2 separate regions of the Homo sapiens genome follow, and region 2 is linked to region 1. The links are contacts of gene promoters, found by promoter capture Hi-C in blood cells and fetal thymus (Javierre and others, 2016). All regions are on one chromosome and are shown on one strand. Each heading gives the region's core, a stretch centred on a gene start or on the middle of the fragment in contact. The rest is flanking DNA. Distances are from core to core; before and after follow the strand shown.

The links. Contacts are between HindIII fragments. The CHiCAGO score rates a contact against its expected background, and 5 or more counts as called.
Region 2: a contact is called between a fragment that was not itself captured here and the fragment with the promoter of NR5A2 in region 1, in 1 of 17 cell types (megakaryocytes). The highest score is 5.1, in megakaryocytes.

Annotation. Positions count from the first base shown.
Region 1 is chr1:200,026,347-200,029,032 of GRCh38, forward strand. It overlaps NR5A2 (nuclear receptor subfamily 5 group A member 2), which reads left to right and starts at 1,364. Exons shown (of 8, transcript NM_205860.3): 1 at 1,364-1,565. The coding sequence starts at 1,502. The HindIII fragment of the contact is 3,447 bases long and covers 810-2,686 here.
Region 2 is chr1:199,860,966-199,863,651 of GRCh38, forward strand. No RefSeq gene overlaps it. Among named protein-coding and RNA genes, the nearest start is that of NR5A2, 170 kb to the right of the region's middle. The HindIII fragment of the contact is 5,888 bases long and covers 1-2,686 here.

The DNA of each region.
Region 1 (2,686 bases), core at 114-2,613:
AGATCATTTGAGGTCACAAGTTTGAGACCAGCCTGGCCAACACGGTGAAACCCCGTCTTGACTAAAAATGCAAAAATTAGCCGGGCATGGTGGTGTGCCCCTGTAATCCCAGCTACTGGGGAGGCTGAGGCGGGAGAATTGCTTGAACCCGGGAGACAGAAGCTGCAGTGAGCCGAGATCGTGCCACTGCACTCCAGCCTGGGCAACAGAGCGAGAACCCATCTCAAAAAAAAAAAATTGTTATTTTGTTGTTATTGTTGTTTTTGAAGACAGAGTCTCACTCTGTTGCCCAGGCTGGAGTGCGGTGGCATGATCTTGGATTGTGTTCTTCCAGGGTTGCAGAGAGAAGTGCAACAGCGTCTCATTGCAACCTCTGCCTCCCAGGTTCAAGCAATTCTCCCGCCTCAGCCTCCCAAGTAGCTGGGATTACAGGAGTGCACCATCACACCCAGCTAATTTTTGCATTTTTAGTAGAGATGGAGGTTTCACCATGTTGGCCAGGCTGGTCTCGAACTCCTGACCTCAGGTGATCCGCCTGCCTTGGCTTCCCAAAGTGCTGGGATTACAGGTGTGAGCCACCATGCCCAGCCTAAGAATAATAACTTTATAACTATGAAAAATGTGTTACATATTCACCATTTTGCCAGCATTAATCTCAAAGCATAAGTTTTACCTTTTGGGGATAAAGAGATAGATTGTGTTTTAGCCATATGACCAATGTAGAAACAAGCTAAGGTTAACTCCTCATCTAATGAATAGGCCCGATAAAAAAGTTGGTTGACCACAACATGAATAAATAAATAACCATAAGCTTGGAAATGCTACCTGTAGTATTTCAGAGTGTCGATCACATTTGTAGTCATCACTTAAAGAATTAATGTCTGCCAATGTTATCATCTAAAATGTATTTACAGAGGTCAGAAGAGCTATGTCTGTCCTCCTCTATGCAAAGAGGTGATGACATCAAGGGGTATGTCACAAGCCAAAGTTTAGTTAGCCTAAGTTAGTTAGCTGGTTTGCAGTTTTTATCCACTAAGTCTGATCTTCTGACCCCTCAGTTTTACAACTTTCCACTCTCTGTGCTGCATAGCACCTCTCCACTTCTGAGTTAATCATTTCTTTGCCATTATCTGGCAAGAATTCTTATCTCTTTTGCTGTCACTTTATAACAGGGTCCTCTTATCAACCTGCATAGAGTCATGTGATGAGTCAAAGCCTATCAAAAGTTTCCATTCTTCTGATTAGAAACCATCATGAAACTGGATACATGGTTTACAGCAGGTCACTAATGTTGGAAAAAGTACAGAGTCCAGGGAAAGACTTGCTTGTAACTTTATGAATTCTGGATTTTTTTTTTTCCTTTGCTTTTTCTTAACTTTCACTAAGGGTTACTGTAGTCTGATGTGTCCTTCCCAAGGCCACGAAATTTGACAAGCTGCACTTTTCTTTTGCTCAATGATTTCTGCTTTAAGCCAAAGAACTGCCTATAATTTCACTAAGAATGTCTTCTAATTCAGATACTGGGGATTTACAAGAGTCTTTAAAGCACGGACTTACACCTATTGGTAAGTAGGAGTTTCTCTATTGATCATCTATTTATTCTGCTACTACATACATATAATTTAATCTTGTTGATGGATTTTGCATTTTAAGTCATGGCTTTTCCTATTATGTTTATTAAAAGCACACAATAAGCCTATGTATATATATCACACATTTATCTTTCTTGCAGTTCAAAAAAAGCAAATGGATATTTCAACATATGAATATTATTCATTATATCTAGTGTTTACTGGTGTCATTCTAATACCCTAATCAGCCAGAAAATATAATTTATACTTTATCAATTTCAACTTTAATATTTTCTGATAATTTTTAATCAGAAATAATAAGCTAAAATTTGAACAATTTGAAACAAGTTAATCATATTGAGTGATCATTGATCAAACTTTAACAGATAGCTGTCAAGTATTTGTTACTTTTCAACCCACACAAAAGTATGGTGTCTTATTCTCTGCTTATACCGTAAAAAATTTTCATTTTATTTTCCTGGGGAATGAAAGTCATGCCCCCACCTCCAAAAAAAAAAAAAAAAAACCAAAAAAACTAGACCATCATTAGTAAAGGATTTGAAGAGCTACTGTTTCTCGCAACAATTAGTATATTTTGTTTTTACAAACAGAAATAAGTAAATAAAGCTACTATTCATTTAAAAAATAGAGTTACAAACTTATGAATTTTATAGCAAGACTACATTCAATTAATTCTAAAAGTAAAGGACTGAAGGGAAGTGATTCCCAGTGATCTGTAATTATTTGTCTGTTGGAAGTCAGGCCCTTCTGCCTTTCCCCAGTTTTTGAAGGACCTGTGCCTTTTCTGGCAGCATTTGCCTAGGCTTTCAGACTGGAATTTCCCTCCGAATTTGCAGGGGCCTGTCATGAGCTCTCTGAGTCTCAGCTCCATTATAACAAGAAAGAAAATCAAGGCTTGAGTTTTTCCTCTTTTTTCCTTCCTAGTCAGCTGACTCCACAGAATGCAGTGGAGTCACAGATTGCTTTTTTTATGGGCCAACTACACCCTAAAGTATATCACTTGAGGAAATGTTTACCAAAAATGTTCTATACTTACGAAAAAGAAAACATGGGGAAGGTAAGCAGGGTGTAACACACAATCAATTGTTCTGCAG
Region 2 (2,686 bases), core at 50-2,549, 170 kb before region 1:
ACCACTTGAACCCAGGAGATGAAGATTGCAGTGAGCTGAGATCATGCCATTGCACTCTAGCCTGGGCAACAGTGATCTCAGTCTCAAAAAAAAAAAAAAAAAAAAAAAGGAAAAGAAAAGAAAAGGAAAAAAAAGAGTATTTATTTCTTAGGAAGCCCCTAGTACAAGTGGGGAAATGTGAGAAGTGGATAAGTTTACCCATTAGGGACAGGAAGTTCTCTCCAGAAATAATGTCTGATTTCCTGCTGCCAAAGGCTGTCAGCCCTGCTGCTCATTTTGCTTCTATAGAAATATGATAGCCTGTTTCCTTCCCTCTACTCCTGATACTCCCCAAACCTGCCCTTCTCCACACCATAGGCTATCAGCAACACTTTTCCAGAGACTGTGCCGCTGTCGCCTCCTCTTCCCTGGTTGACAGACCCATCCTTGCTTCTCTCCCAAAGTGGGGCACAACAGAGGGGACAAAGAATCCATGTAGTCACCCACCAGTGGCATTCTTTCAGGAGAAATCGTGGTCTCTCCCAAAAAAGCATGCATCTGCTTCATAGAAACCTTCACTTTGGCATTACACAAAGCAGAATGCCACCCCAGCAATATTCTAGTTGGAGGAGGTCTTTATACAATACCCATGGGGCAGAAAACCTCAAGGAGAATGCCAAGAATTAAAAAGAACATGAGCCAACACTGCCCTGGGAGAGGATGAGATGTAGGAGTGAATATTAGCCTATTTCCCACTGTTATCCTTTTTGGGGTAATGTTTTTATGTGCAGTATTTTTTGAGTATTAACTTCTTGCACAGTGATGTTATAGATACACAGCACATATAAGAACATGGACTTCAGTCAAAATACTGGGTTCCATGTCACACACCCCTCTTTGCCAGCCTGATGGCCTTTTGGTTTTCTCGTCTGTAAAATGGGCATAATTACACCAAATACATCATGGGTTGGGAAGGATTCAGAAAGACAATTCACACAAAGCATATGCATAGTAAGCATATGCATACACAGTAAACCCTCATTAAATATCACCAATGAGCATTCTGGCAAACCAATTTTGTCAGATAAAGTTAAGAATTTATCCATAAGTTAAGATCTTGGCCAGGCATGGTGGTTCACACCTGTAATCCCAGCATTTTGGGAGGCCAAGGTGGGTTGCTGACTTGAGCTCAGGAGTTTAAGACAAGCCTGGGTAACATAGTAAGACCCTCTCTCTACAAAAAATAGCTGGGTGTGGTGACTCACGCCTGTAGTCCCAGCTACTCAGAGGCTGAGGTGGGAGGATCATTTGAGCCCAGGAGGCAGAGATTGCAGTGAGCCAAGATCTTGCCACTGCATTCCAGCCTGAGTGCTACAGTGGAACCCGGTCTCAAGAAGAAAACAAAAGATCTTAATCCATATACAATAACTAAGTCTAAAATGATGCATAATATTTGAAAATCTCTGCAGAAAAAGAAATGTGAAAAATAATTTTCCACATTGAAATATTAAAAAATCAAGATTACATGGCTCGTGCTATTTTTTTAAATGTGCTATTTTTTAGTGTGTATATTAATTAGTAACTCTGCATACACATTGAAAATTGAGCTTCAATTTTTGCTATATTAATCAAAAGTTGATTTATTATAATCAGGCATTTCTTTTGATATGCATGCTAACCCAGAAGAATCTGGATCAAGATTCCTTATAGCATATTAAGTTTTAAGCAATGGAATAATTTTTGAGTTTTAGTCCTAAATTTCTTAAACCTTAAATATATCAGCAATTTCTCAAACTCATGTGTATAGCCTCTTATTTTTACTTAACATAGCTTACATTTACTTGTTATAAAGCTCTCATGAAATGAGACAGGCAACTGAGATACATGTACTCCAGGAGTAGCCACAGCAGAATGGCCAGGTCCCTATGCCTACAGTGCACTAGGAAACCGAGGCATGGTGTGGCTTAATGTTACAAGCACTTTTATCTCCTGCAGAGTAAGATAATGTAAAAAGCCAGGTACTGGGAGTCCAGAGACCAAGTTCAAACACCAGCTCCATCACCTCTAGCTGAGATACACTGGGCCCTCTGCTTAACCTCTCAGAGCCTTGGTTTCCTAATTTTTTATGGTATAAAGAATACTACTTTGTAGTATAGAATTTTTTAAATAAAATTAAATGGGAATATGAAAGTACCTAGCACAAAGGAGGCATTCAACATGTGTTAATTTCTTTCCATCCTACAATTCATAAAACAAATTTCCTGTCCACATTGCTTTATCAGATACTTAAATGCAAGCACTATGTGTTCTTGGTCCTCAAATGACAGAAATGAAGTAACAATAAATGAGCGAACTGTCTCAGTAACTGTCTCTCTCCTGTACAGTAAGGAATTATCCTTGGTACATCTCACATGACTCTATAATGTGTGGGGAATGGGCTCTACAGGGACCACTCCATGTGTCTTAGTCCCTCAAGTGTAAAAAAGAGATGGACCTTAGTTTCCATGCACTGCCTCATTTTATGCTTATTTTAATATATATTTTTCTCATAAGATGATTTTAAAAGTTAGACTGTCTTTTATGCATATGTGATATTAGTTCATATCAAGCTGTCTACCATACATGTGGTAGTTCTAGTTACATAATTTGCAGATCAATTTATGTCAACATAAACCTGCCCCCCACAGGGAAATCTCAGAGATTCATA